Linked DNA regions of Homo sapiens: all the other regions are linked to region 4. Evidence: promoter capture Hi-C in 16 types of primary human blood cells and fetal thymus (Javierre and others, 2016). All regions are on one chromosome and are shown on one strand. The core of a region is centred on a gene start or on the middle of the fragment in contact, and the rest is flanking DNA. Distances in the headings are between cores, read along the strand shown. Region 1 overlaps TMEM50B (transmembrane protein 50B). Region 2 holds the start of TMEM50B (transmembrane protein 50B). Region 3 overlaps GART (phosphoribosylglycinamide formyltransferase, phosphoribosylglycinamide synthetase, phosphoribosylaminoimidazole synthetase). Region 4 holds the start of OLIG1 (oligodendrocyte transcription factor 1). Region 5 overlaps IFNGR2 (interferon gamma receptor 2).

Region 1 (2,700 bases), core at 89-2,588, 390 kb before region 4:
TTAATTAGGGCATTCGTTTCTCTAGTCAGTAAAAAGGTAACTTTCTTTTTTTCCTTTTCCATGTATGGTTTAACTTCTTTTAGTGTTTTTTTTTTAAATCATCATTCATTTAACTTACAGCAGATTTATATAAATATATGACTATCTTTGATATGCATAATATATACTAGGCTAACAGGGCTCCTAGTATTATGTATTCCTAAGACGTTACAGAGCTGCAAAAATGAACAAAATCATAAAGCCTCTTCTCTACACAGGTGCTCGAGTTTGGCTTTTCATTGGTTTCATGTTGATGTTTGGGTCACTTATTGCTTCCATGTGGATTCTTTTTGGTGCATATGTTACCCAAAGTAAGTATATATTCTTCTTGTATTTTATAGGAGAGATTCAGATATGTCTTTTATATTTGGCTTACTCTACCTTGAGTACAACTTAGTATAATTGTTCACTTAGATTGAAGATACTGCTCTGTGTGAAGATACATGAGTTTAATAAAACTTGTCAGTGGGAACACTTAGTGCAGTAGGATAGCCCTGGTTAGGAAATCCAAGCCACTGACAAAGCTGGTACCTCTCAGCTGTCTCCAGACTTTCTGCTTTCCTTCTTTACCTTAGACAGCCAGGATTTTATGCTAGAGGCCCATTTACTGGGAGTTGCAGTAGAAAAAGTGAGAAACCAGTACAGGTGTACACTCCCTTATATACAATTCTAAAATCCACAAAATGCTGAAAATCAAGTTATTTATAACTAGTCTGGCAGCAAAACCTGACCTAAACTGACATGGAGCTCACTATTTTCTTTATCCCATTTAGTGTAAGTATTCAAATGTTTTATTGTAGGAATGAAAATAGATATATTAGATTATAGGATGTGCTTGTCTATACCCAGCTGGCGGTGCTATGTAGTATATGTGCTTTCCCTTACTGTTCTTAAACCTGAAGAATTCTGAATCCCAAAATATATCTTGCCCCAGGGATTTCAGATAAGGGGTATAGACCCCTTATCTGATAATCTATGGATTGCCAGTAGATAATCTTTCGTTTCATTGACACCTTCTCTCTCCAACCTAATCCTGTAATTTTTTTTTTTTTTTTTGAGACGGAGTCTCACTCTGTCACCCAGGATGGAGTGCAGTGGTGTGATCTCGGCTCACTGCAACCTCCGCCTCACAGGTTCAAGTAATTTGCCTGTCTCAGCCTCCCAAGTAGCTGGGATTACAGGTGCACGCCACCACACCCAGCTAATTTTTGTATTTTTTTAGTAGAGACAGGGTTTCACCATGTTGGCCAGGCTGGTCTCAAACTCCTGACCTCAAGTGATCCACCCATCTTGGTCTCCCAAAGTGCTGGGATTACAGGTGTGAGCCACCATGCCCAGCCAATCCTGTAATTTTTAAGTCATGGGTACAGGGGGAGTTTTTTAAGGGCAAGACTGAACACATATGTATACTCTTCATACAGAAACAGCTGATGGAGTGGGATGAGCTCTTATTACACCATGCTGAAATCTGTGGCTCTGCCAGGTGCCATAGCTTTTCATTCACAGTAGTGATGAAAAATAGAACCCAGTTTCAGAAATGTCTCTGGAAGCGTCGGAAGACTGTTTCACTGGCCCTCTTCCTTTGCTCCTAAGACAGGAGTCAGTTTCAGAGAACGCAATTTATTCATCCTCTGACTCCTCTACCTCTGGAATCTCTTTGTCAGCCTTCTTTGCTTAACTGTCACATCTCCTTGTCCTGACTCACAGCTGGTTTTTGAATACTTTTGATAGTATCATTTAAGTCTCATAGTTTGATCAGTATAAGATCTTTGGAATACTTTTGTTTTTCTTTTGTCTTTCACTTGATACAAAATAAGTCAGATTACAAGAGGACAGTGGTTGGCTTAAATAACATTGGTCACCAACTGTATCTAAAATGTGTTTTTTAGTTAATTAAAAATACTACTAGAGCACATAATTCTGGTATGAAGCATATCTGAAGGAAAATGCTTTTTTAAAGATAGCTTCATTGAGATATAATTTGCATACCATATAATTCAGCCATTTAAAATATGCAGTTCAGTGTTTTTAGTATTTTCACAGAATTATGCTACCATCATCACAATCCAATTTGAGAATATTTTTATCACTGCCATACCCATTAGCAGTCACTCCCCATTACTCCTTCCCCTAGCCCTAGGCAGCCACTAATGTACTTTCTGTCTGTATCTATTTCATACACATGGAATCTTATAGGAAAGTGTTTTTTTGAGACAGAACCTTGCTCTGTCGCCCAGGCTGGAGTGCAGTGGCGTGATCTCGGCTCACTGCAACCTCTGCCTCCCAGGTTCAAGCAATTCTCCTTTCTCAGCCTCCTAAGTAGCTGGGACTGCAGGTGCATGCCACCACGCCCAGATAATTTTTGTATTTTTAGTAGAGATGGGGTTTCACCATATTGGTCAGGCTGGTCTCGAATTCCTGACCTCAGGTGATCCACCCACCTCAGCCTCCCAAAGTGCTGGTATTACAGGCGTGAGCCACTGTGCCCAGCCGGAAAGTGTGTTTTAAACTCATTTTATCCCTGACTGTAAGAAGGGTGGGCTGCTGTCACTGATTTTCTTAAAAGGTCTCCATAGTTATGTTAAAGAAAAACTTTAGATAAATTAGCAATTTGAGCAAACCAAGAAGAGGTTCGGAGAGCTTCACCCAGCAGCATGAGCA
Region 2 (2,700 bases), core at 104-2,603, 410 kb before region 4:
TGTTCCCTTCTGTATCCTCTCTTCTGGTGGAATGCCAGCATTGTGACATATTTCAAAAGTAAATTATTCAGCACATATTTATTGAACACCTAGATCCTAGCCCATGTATAAGAGCTATAGGAGAACATTATCCAGGATGGCATTTTTGGTGATAATTCCATGATACAAAACCTTTTACTTCATTATGCCTCAAGTAAAATGCTTTTTAGATTTCCACTGATAATAACTCTACTTGGCTGGGCACAGTGGCCCACGCTTGTAATCCCAGCATTTTGGGAGGCAGAGGCGGGTGGATCACCTGAGGTCAGGAGTTCAGGATCAGCCAGGTGAAATCCCGTCTCTACTAAAAATACACAAATTAGCCAAGCATGGTGGTGCGCACCTGTAATCCCAGCTACTCGGAAGGCTGAGGTGGGAGGATTGATTGAGCGTGGGAGGTAAGAGGCTGCAGTGAGCCAAGATCACACCACTGCACTCCACCCTGGACAACAGAGCAAGACCCTGTCTCAAAACAAACAAACAAACCACCCAAAAAACAAAGCTCGACTTTCCCCCAAACAACTAAATGGTTATAGGCATTTCTGTAGGAAATTTAGACGGGGCTTCCAAACGCTGTTAAAGTTATGTTGAAAATCCAAGAGGCTGAAAGATATCTGACTATAAGAAAGACGAAAAAAAAAAAAAAAGACAAAAATCTACGTGAATAGACGGGAGAGCGCCGAGCGAAATCAGAAGACTAGTTGTATTGTGAGGATCACCTCGGGTAACCAGCACTCGCTGGGTAGCCCTGGTTTACTAACTTCAACTTTCTGGGGCTCCATTTCTGAATTGAGGGGATTAGAAAAAGGCATCTCTAAAGACCCTCCGTTCCCGAGAACCCTCCCGGAGCACCTTCCCTACTCTGGGCAGCTCGCAGACAGACAAGACTGATCGGCCATAGGCGAAGGGAAACCCTGGTCCCCCGGGTCTCGAGCTCCGTCCGCACGTAATCTCACGGTACTGCACTTCAAGTCAGCGTGCAGAAACGCAGCAGTGGGAGCCCGGCGGCGGCCGCCCACCGGCAGGGGACAGGAGAGGCCCGTCCCGCTCTGCCCGGAACCGTAGATAGCTGGGTCTGAACTCCGGCTCCGGGAGGCCTGCAGAGCAGCCCACCCCGTCCCTCGGAGCTCGCCCTGCCCCCGGCCGGCCACTTGCTGCACGCCGATTGGTCGCGAGGAGCGCCCGGCGTCCCGCTGCGCCCAGCCAACGCCCTCTCCCCGCCCCCTCGCGTCCCGCCCCGCCCCCGGCCGGCCACTTGCTGCGCTCCGATTGGTCGCTGCGGTGCACACGGCGCCTCGCCCCGCCTCACCGGCGCTCTATCCTCGCGTCTGCTCCCAGCTCCGGGCTCCCGGGGCTGAGGTGGAGCCGCGGGACGCCGGCAGGGTTGTGGCGCAGCAGTCTCCTTCCTGCGCGCGCGCCTGAAGTCGGCGTGGGCGTTTGAGGAAGCTGGGTGAGTCCTGTCTGTGGGTCTCCGGCGCCAGGCAACCGTAGAGGGCTCGCGCCCGCCGCCCGCGCGTAAGGAGGCTCCCTCGTCGGGCCCTGTCCGGCCCGGCCTTCTGGGGGCTGTGGGGCCGTCCAGCCGGGTTTTCCCTGCGTTCGGCGCCGGCCTGCAGACTCGGGCCCGCGGAGCCCCCGCCGCCCCTTCTTGCCCCTGCCCGCGTCCCTTCGGGCCGACCGTGACCGTGGCGCCGCCGCGACCCGCAAGCAGCCCGGGGAGGCTGCCCTGCCGCGCTGTCACGCCGTCAGGTTGCGTTCCTGGGGAGGGCTGGAGAGGCTCCATCTCGTGCCTTTCACCTTCTCGCGCGGCGGGCACGGAGGCGACGGTTTTCGGGACGCCCTGCTGCGGCCGCGACGCCCTCCCGAGGCCGGAGCGAGGGCCCCGGGGCGGCTCCAGCCCTTCTTCGCCCCTCCCGTTTGCCCCGAACCATTGCTAGGAGCCTGTGTTTTCTGCACTTTTCTGATTTCATTCTTACGAGAGTCAAGTACAGAGGCGGGAGGGGAAAGGGAAGGGGAACAACATTCTTTCGAGAATTATAAACCTTGAGCTCCGTTAAATAAGTAGCAGCAGAGCATTGTCACTGGAGCAGTGGTAGTCGCGGGTAGGACCGTTTCGGTTTTTAGCCAATAGGCTGGTTAAAGGTACTTAAAACAGTAAGTTGGAAGGTGCTGAAATTCTAAGGTAAATACGTGACCTTTCAAAACCAAAGCAGTGAGACGGGCTAGGCTGGGCTGCTCCCCGCTGCGCGTGCCTGGGTCGGGGGGTGCGGAGGGGCAGGGGGCGGAGGCCTCGGACGGGACGGGGTGGGAGGGAAGTGGCATCCGCATCGTCTTACATCGCGCTGTAAGACCCGATTTTCTCTTTTCGGAGGATCCCATCTCCCTTCTCAGACTCTTCATCCTACCTGCACTGTGGATCCCTTGACACTTCAGAGGCTCTGAACTCTCAGGCCGGTCACACTTTTTCATCATTTTGTTTCTTGTCTTTTAAACCTGCATGCATTTCAAACGTAGAGCAAACATTAAACTTTTTTTTTAAACTGAAGATAGTGGTGCAAGACTTTGTTATTGAAATGCAAACCAAAAGTTATCTTGAATATTTATCGCGCTGGAAAAGCAGGTTTAATTAGAGTGAGGTGGGGACGTATATTTCTTCTTCCGGAG
Region 3 (2,700 bases), core at 41-2,540, 470 kb before region 4:
TTAATAAAGATAGGCTGGGCACAGTGGCTAATGCCTGTAATCCCAGCACTTTGGGAGGCCGAGATATGCGGATCATGAGGTCAGGAGATGGAGACCATCCTGGCTAACATGGTGAAACCCCGTCTTTACTAAAAATACAAAAAATTAGCCGGGCGTGGTGGCGGGTGCCTGTAGTCCCAGCTACTCGGGAGGCTGAGGCAGGAGAATGGCTTGAACCCAGGGGGTGGAGCTTGTAGTAAGCTGACATCATGCCACTGCACTCCAGCCTGGGCGACAGAATGAGACTCCATCTCAAAATAAAATAAAATATAGACTACTATTCAGGGTTGAGTGCTTTCCTTGACCTTAAAATTTATTTGGTAATTTGAATGCTTGCCAATATGTTATAAACTTAAGGTAACCTATTGTTCAGAATATGGCATTTCCTTATCTTAAACTGTTTTAAACCTGATAAAACACATCCATTGGAAAAGTAGTAAGTGCCTAATACAGATTAAAGGCATTTTGTTGTGTATTTTTGTAAATGGAAAGTTTAGTATTGCTATTAAATACAACTTGCGGCCACGTGCAGTGGCTCACGCTTACAATCCCAGCACTTTGGGAAGCCAAGGCAGAAGGATCTCTTGAGCCCAGCAGTTTGAGACTAGCCAGGGCAATGTAGTGAGACCCGATCTCTACAAAAAAAAAATACAAAAATTAGCCAGGCATGGTGGTGCACATCTGTAGTGCCAGCTACTTGGGCAACAGAGTAAGATGAGAACCTGTCTCACAAAACAAAGTTTTTAACAGTTGTTACTCTAATAGATCTCAACCCTTATCTCTCTCTGACTTTTTTTTTTTTTTTTTTTTTGAGACAGAGTCTCACTCTCACCCATACTGGAGTGCAGTAGCGTGATCTCAGCTCACTGCAACCTCTGGCTCCTGAGTTAAAGCGATTCTTCTGCCTCAGCCTCCCGAGTAGCTGGTACTACAGGTGCATGCCGCCACACCCAGCTAATTTTTTGTTTTTTTAGTAGAGACCGGGTTTCACTATGTTGGTCAGGCTGGTCTCAAACTCCTGACCTCAGGTGATCTGCCCGCCTCAGCCTCCCAAAGTGCTGGGATTACAGGCATGAGCCACCGTGCCCAGCCTCCACCCTTATCTCTCAATTGGCAAAAATGAAAAAATGGTCAGTTCATATACTACATTAAGCTTGTCAGTGGCTTCAGAAACTCCTCAGTATTCTAATAATACTCAGAATAAAACTCAAATTCCTTACCATGCCTTTCAAAGCCCTTTGTGCAGTCTGTCTTCTGCCTGCTCTTCCAGCCTGATCTTTTATATCCCTTTTTCTCTTTTCACTATACCCTATCCATGCTGTCCTACCAATTTCCCAAGCAGAAGCTTGCTGCTTTGGACTTTATATTTGTTCCCACCCCTTACTATGACTGTCTCCTCATTATTCAGAGCTCCACTTAAATGTTAGCCTCCTTAATTATATCTCTCCTACAGTTTCTTACTAAAAGCAAGTGTCCATCCCCATTTCATTTGTTTATGATCATGAATGTCTGTGTTTATTTTTACTTCACTATTGTCTGTCTTCTATGTTCTTTTCCTCCACTAGAATATAATCTCTAGTAGAATGTAAGCTCCATGAGGGCAAGGAACTTGTCTGTCTTGTTTTGCATGGTGTGCACAGTGCTTAGTTCCCTATGTGGCACATAATATTTATGGAAAGAAGAGCATGGACCCAACAAGCCACAAACTGGGAGAAGATAGTGGCATGTATATAAGACCAAAAGGAATAATACAAATTAGCAAATACCTCCTTTTCTGGGATCTTAATTCTACGGGTGAGATATTTGTTTATTAGAGAACTAGGACAGTTTATCTGCGATTGAGGTCATACAGGCAAGCCCATCAAAATCTCTTAAGATCATCATGAGACTACTACAAGTAGTCTTGTAAGACTACTAAAGAGACCTCTTCCTCTTGTTGCCCTCTGCTATACTGATATAGTTGACGCTGCTCAGCCTAGTTGTGTTCAGAACCACTAACCCACAGTGCGTGGTACTCCATCCTAATCACATTCAGGCAGTTGCTGCAGATTGAGGACCCTACCTTTTCTGGACTTGGACCCTATACAGTAGTCACCAGCCTATCCACAATTTTACTTTCCACAGTTTCAGTTACCCACAGTCAGCTGTAGTCCAAAATATTAAATGGAAAATTTCAGAAATAATTCATAAATTTTACATTGCACACCAGTCTAGCATAGCATGATGAAATTTTGTGCCGTCCAACCTGAGACGTGAATCTTTTTGTCCAGCATATCCATGTTGTTACTTACTAGCCCTGTTGGTTATCAGATTGACTATCATATTATCTCAGTGCATGTGTTCAGGTAACCCTGTTTTACTTAATAATGGCCCCAAAGCTGATGCTGGCATATAGTTATAATTGTTCTATTTTAGTATTAGTGATAGTTAATCTCTTACTGTGCCTAATTTGTAAATTAAACTTTATCATAGGTGTTTATGTATAGGAAAAAACATACTATATATATAGCGTTCAGCACTGTGGTTTCAGGCATCCACTAGGGATCTTAGAATGTGTCCTCTAAGGATAAAGAGGGACAACTGTACATCACAAATATCACTTCTTGTACTCTGTACCAATGGCAGAGTGATTGCACACTTCAGCTGACTTAACGAATGGTG
Region 4 (2,700 bases), core at 36-2,535:
CCCGGGGCGCGCCAACCACGGCAAGGCGCCCTAAGTTCTACATCGGCCCCGCGAAGCGCGCAACTCCAGGGACAAGGAGAGAGATGTGCTGGGTGAGAGCGAGCACTTTCTGCCTAAAGCCGCTGGAACCGACCCAGAACCCCAAACTGCCCCGAGGCGCCATCGAACATCCGCTCTGGTCACTTTAACGTCCCAGGGGTGGGGGCGGGGAAGGGGGTGCCCGACAGTCCCTTCCTCTGGACTGGAAGGTTCGAAATGCTTTCCTTGCTCGGCCTCGCTCTCCCAGACGCAGGGAGCAGGGGCGCGGAGAAGCTGAGCGAAGGGAGGCCGGGCCGAGGTCGCGCCCCAGGCCCAGGCCCGCCCTCACTTGGAGAATTGCGCCTGCACGGCGGCCAGGCCCAGGCTGGCCGGGACCAGGTGCGGGAACTTGCACACGGCGCAGGTGCAGAGGCCGGGGCCGCCTGCGCCGCCGCCGGGGAGAGCGAACTGGCCGCACGGCGGCTCGTCCAGCGCCAGCGACAGGTACTTGGCGGGGCGCAGCGCGTCGGGGGGTCCTACGGCGCCGGGCGCCAGCAGCACGGAGCCGGGCGCGGCGGCGAGCAGGGGCAGCCCGGCCAGCAGCAGGCGCGGCGCGGCGGGCCCGGCGCCCTCGCCCAGCGCGCGGCGCAGCTCCTGCAGCGAGCTGCCCAGCAGTAGGATGTAGTTGCGGGCGAGCAGCAGCGTGGCTATCTTGGAGAGCTTGCGGCCGGGCGCGCCCTGGCAGTGCGCCGCTGAGTAGGGCAGGATGACCTCGCGCAGGGCGTCCATGGCCAGGTTCAGGTCCTGCATGCGCTTCCGCTCGCGGCTGTTGATCTTGCGCCGCAGCTGCTGCTGCTGCTCCTCCTTGGCGTCCGGCCGGGCGCTGCCGCCCGGGTGCGCGCCTGACCCGGGCCCGGGGCCTGGAGGCTCGGCCGGCGCCTCCGGCTTCTCGCGCGCAGCCTTGGGGAGGAGGGGGGCCGTCGTGGAGGAGGAGGAAGTGGAGGAGGTGGAGGAGGTGGAGGAGGAGGAGGAGGAGGGCGGCTGCCTGTAGCCCACCAGCTCGTAGAGGGAGGCCCCGAGCTGCAAGTCTCCGGGCCGCTGTGGCCGCAGCATGGTCCCGGGGACCGCGTTCACGCGCGCCTGGGAAACCGCATAGTACATCTGGGAGGCGGTGGGGGCGGCCGAGGACGCCCTTCAGGAACGCCCTGGGGTGGGCCGGTCGGCAGGCCGCCCCTCCCCGCGGACCTGCGCGCGGGGAAACGATGGTGGGGCCCTGGCCCGCGCCCTACCCCTTTAAACCCGGCTTGGGAACCTGCGGGGCAGCGGGTGGCGGGGCGCAGCCAATGGAGGCGCGAGGCCGGGCGCAGCCGCGTGTTCATTGGCTGCTTGTGCCGGGGCCGCGCGGAGGTGCGGCTGGCACCGCTTTAGGAGGTTATTGTGAGCGCCTGTGCCAGCCGCGCGGGACAGGCCCCCTGAGCGGAGTAAGGGCGCCTTTTCAAGGCAAGCGGGGCTGTTGAAGGAGGACTGGTCGCACTGGTCAGGCTGCAACTCACGTGCCTTCCTCCAGCAACTGTCTACTCAAAAACAACCTCCCTCATATTTTTTTTTAACTGTGATCACATATTCATAACATAAAATTTACCGTCTTATGTTTAGAGTACTGTTCAGTAATGTTATATGCATTAGTGTGCACATTAAATTGATTTAAATTAAATTCACATTGTTGTGCAACCCATCTCCAGAACTCTTTTCAACTTGCAACCCTGAAGCTCCACCCATTAAACAACTCCCCACTCCCCCCGACCCAAGTTCCTGGAATTCACTCTTCTGTTCTGTCTCTATGAATTTGTTCTACTCTAGGTCCCTCATATAAGTAGAATCATACAGCACTTGTCTTTTAGTGACTGGCTTCTTTCACTTAGCATATTGTCGTCAAGGTTTATCCATGTTGTAGCATGTATCAAAGTTTCTTCCTTTTCAAGGCTGAATAATATTCCAGTATATGGATATACCACATTTGGTTTATCCATTCATTCGTTGATGGACATTTGGGGTGCTTTTGGTTGTTGCGAATTATGCTGCTATGAACATGAGTGTATCATGTTTTTTTTTTCTTAAAATACATAATTTCCTGCCAGGTTCAGGTCGCTAAATTTCTGGACTAAATGACAAGTAGCATTAGGATATTTCCTCCCTGCTGCTCCCAACCTCCTTCCCCATCCCTCTGATTGAAAGGTCTTTAGGGACAAAGGAGCCTTTGGGTCGGGTTTCTATCCTCCCCGAAAGGGATGGTCTATCAGCAACTTGACATTTGCTTAAGCAAAAGTCACTCAGAAATTGGCCTCTTATTAGAAACAAAACAAAACACCCACATAGTCCTATCGGTTGAGGGTGGGAATGAATCATTTTATTTGCCAAATAGAATAGCATTACTTGGTGTCTATGGACATTTTCTGCCCCCAGCACCAGTGCATGCTACTATAACTTGTCAATGTCCTGGGGAAGAGGGCATCTTGGTGGCTGTGCTTGCTGGTTTCAGGGCTGCTTTGTTCTGGTTTTCTTCCACCAATATTTGCCACATGGGTTCACTCTGATCTTTGCTTCTGACCCCCAGCTCTGCCTGTAGCATCCTGCCTATGCCTCAGGTTCAGCTCCAACCTTGCTTTCTTCTGGAAGCCTTGG
Region 5 (2,700 bases), core at 138-2,637, 360 kb before region 4:
AGGGTGGGTGGATCACCTGAGGTCAGGAGTTAAGAGACCAGCCTGGCCAACATTGCAAAACCCAGTCTCTACTAAAAGTACAAAAATTAGCTGGATGTGGTGGCACACACCTGTAATCCCAGCTACATGGGAGGCTGAGGGAGGAGAATCACTTGGACCAGGAGGCAGAGGGTGCAGTGAGCTGAGATTGCGCCAGCCTGGATGAAGAGCAAGACTCCATCTCAAAACAAACATTTTGTATTTCTTTTTTTTTTTGAGATGGAGTTTCGCTCTGTCACCAGGCTGGACCGCAATGGTGCGACCTCGGCTCACTGCAACCTCCGCCTCCCAGGTTCAAGCAATTCTCCTGCCTCCAACTCCTGAGTAGTTGGGATTATAGACACCCACCATCATGTCTGGCTCATTTTTGTATTTTTAGTAGAAACAGGGTTTCACCATGTTGCCCAGGCTGGTCTCGAGCTCCTGATCTCAGGTGATCCACCTGCCTCGGCCTCCCAAAGTGCTGGGATTATAGGCGTGAGCCACCGCGCCTGGCCAACATTTTGTATCTCACGGTTAATCTAGATACCTCAAGTTAGTCAACAGAGAAAAAATTATTCTGGGAAATAATGTTCCTTTCATTCCCAACCTGCTTCTAGTTTGACCGAAATGTGCTTGAGCCTCCTATAGTTTCAGCTAAAATGACCTTAAGGATTTATGTCATCAGGAGACAACTGGACCCTAGACTCTAGGAAGGTTCTGTGTCTCCTCTGCGCATCCCTCTGCTGCCTTGAGCAGGCCTTGCTGCCTCCCCACCTGGTCTTCCAGGCAATGGCTCCTGTTGTCCTGGCAAGGCTGTCATTGTCCCATACCAAAGTGGAAAACAGCGATACCCTATTATGGCAGTATAGGGTTTCTTGCAAAGAACTGTTTTCTAATTTTGAGATACAATATAATCCACTACAGCCACATGAAATGGTGGTATAACATATGCTTGAAAACATGGGAAGACAAGGCTGCTAAATTGTTAACTGAAAAAAGGCAGATTATTCAAATACAGAACATGTTGTTATTTTTTAAAATACAAAAATAGGCCAGGCATGGTGGCTCATGCCTGTAATTCCAGCACTTTGGGAGGCTGAGGTGGGAGGATCACTTGAGTCCAGGAGTTTGAGCTTGGGTAACATAGTGAGACCCCCTCCCTCCGTCTCTACAGAAAATAATAATAAAAAAATAAGCTGGTCATGGTGGTGCATGCCTATAAGTCCCAGCTACTCGGAAGGCCAAAGTGGGAGGATGGCTTGAGCCTGTGAATTGGAGGCTACAGTGAGCTATGACTGCACCACTGCACTCCAGCCTGGGTGACAGAGTGAAATTGTCTCTGAAAAATTAAAATTAAAAAATAAAAATATAAAAGTAATTGTATGATCTATGAATAATAGTATTACTTGATGGTTTTACATTTTCTTTTCTTCTGTTTAATGGTGTTGGACTGCCAGGGCAGAGGAAGACACGATTTTAAGGACAAAAATTCCCTTTGGGTTTATTTCAGCATTCAATTGGAATTCCTAAAATTTAGAGTCACAGACTGCAGAAGAGCTAACGTAACAGGCCTAACACTAATGCCCTTTGAAGGGCCTGATTTCCAGGTCAACCCTTAGCTGACATCTGGGAATTTGTGTGCGTTTTTTGTTTGTTTGTTTTTTGAGACGGAGTCTTGCTCCGTTGCCCAGGCTGGAGTGCAGTAGTGTGATCTCGACTCACTGCAACCTCTGCCTCCCAGGTTCAAGCAATTCTCCTGCCTCAGCCTCCTGAGTAACTGGGATCACAGGTGCCCACCACCACGCCTGGCTAATTTTTGTATTTTTAGTAGAGATGGGTTTTCACCATGCTAGCCAGGCCTGTCTCGAACCCCTGACCTCAAGTGATCTGCCTGCCTCGGCCTCCCAAAGTGCTGGGATTACAGGCGTAAGCCACCGCGCCCAGCCTGGGAATTTGGATTTCAAGTTTATCCCTCCCATTCCCAAACTGGTAAGGTGGCTTACCGTCCCTACACTGTTTGCACAATGTGTTTTCTTTATGAGGAACATCTGTTTTCCTTCTGGGAGTCGGAATTTTGGCATACGCTACACAGAGGGTGCGTATGTGGCCAGCCCCCAGAAAAAGCCCTGGGCGCTGGGTCTCTCATAAGCCTCCCTGGCAGACAACAGTTCACATGTGCAGTCACAGCTTGCTGGTGGAGCAATGAAGTGTATCCTGCGTGACTCAGCTCAGGAAGGGCTCCTGGAAGCCTACCCCTGGACACCTGCGGACTTTCCTCCATGTGCCTCTTCCCTTTGCCGATTTTGCTTTGCATCCTTTTGCTATAAAAAATCAGAGTATGGGCCAGGCACAGATGTGGAGGCTGAGACAGGAAAATCTCTTGAACCCGTGAGCCGAGATTGTGGCACTGCACTCTACCCTGGGAGACAGAGTGAAATTCTGTCTCAAAACGAAATCAGAGTGTGACTCTGTGCTGAGTCCTGGGAGTCCTTTGAGCGATCTAGGGTGGGTCTTGGGGACCCTAACACACAGACTCACAGCTGGAACAAAGATCACATTGGTGGCTTTCAGAGTCATTTTCATCCTTGAACCTTTTGATCATGGAAGCCAAGTACAGATGCTCTGGTCAAATGGAGGAAAGGGACTTGGGGGCCCTCACGGCTGCTCCTCTTCACAGGC

The links. Contacts are between HindIII fragments. The CHiCAGO score rates a contact against its expected background, and 5 or more counts as called.
Region 1: a contact is called between a fragment that was not itself captured here and the fragment with the promoter of OLIG1 in region 4, in 2 of 17 cell types (naive B cells and monocytes). The highest score is 5.3, in naive B cells.
Region 2: a contact is called between the fragment with the promoter of TMEM50B here and the fragment with the promoter of OLIG1 in region 4, in 8 of 17 cell types (neutrophils, monocytes, naive CD8 T cells and 5 more). The highest score is 18.3, in neutrophils.
Region 3: a contact is called between a fragment that was not itself captured here and the fragment with the promoter of OLIG1 in region 4, in 1 of 17 cell types (neutrophils). The highest score is 5.3, in neutrophils.
Region 5: a contact is called between a fragment that was not itself captured here and the fragment with the promoter of OLIG1 in region 4, in 1 of 17 cell types (monocytes). The highest score is 5.3, in monocytes.

Annotation. Positions count from the first base shown.
Region 1 is chr21:33,458,063-33,460,762 of GRCh38, reverse strand. It overlaps TMEM50B (transmembrane protein 50B), which reads left to right. Exons shown (of 7, transcript NM_006134.7): 5 at 258-350. Among named protein-coding and RNA genes, the nearest start is that of TMEM50B, 21 kb to the left of the region's middle. The HindIII fragment of the contact is 2,951 bases long and covers 1-2,700 here.
Region 2 is chr21:33,478,627-33,481,326 of GRCh38, reverse strand. It overlaps TMEM50B (transmembrane protein 50B), which reads left to right and starts at 1,353. Exons shown (of 7, transcript NM_006134.7): 1 at 1,353-1,489. The HindIII fragment of the contact is 5,416 bases long and covers 1-2,700 here.
Region 3 is chr21:33,536,392-33,539,091 of GRCh38, reverse strand. All of the region lies in intron 2 of GART (phosphoribosylglycinamide formyltransferase, phosphoribosylglycinamide synthetase, phosphoribosylaminoimidazole synthetase), which reads left to right. Among named protein-coding and RNA genes, the nearest start is that of GART, 4.4 kb to the left of the region's middle. The HindIII fragment of the contact is 192 bases long and covers 1,195-1,386 here.
Region 4 is chr21:33,068,726-33,071,425 of GRCh38, reverse strand. OLIG1 (oligodendrocyte transcription factor 1) reads right to left here and starts at 1,285. Exons shown (of 1, transcript NM_138983.3): 1 at 1-1,285. The coding sequence starts at 1,179. The coding sequence ends at 364. The HindIII fragment of the contact is 4,947 bases long and covers 1-2,700 here.
Region 5 is chr21:33,429,124-33,431,823 of GRCh38, reverse strand. All of the region lies in intron 4 of IFNGR2 (interferon gamma receptor 2), which reads right to left. Among named protein-coding and RNA genes, the nearest start is that of IFNGR2, 27 kb to the right of the region's middle. The HindIII fragment of the contact is 9,279 bases long and covers 1-2,700 here.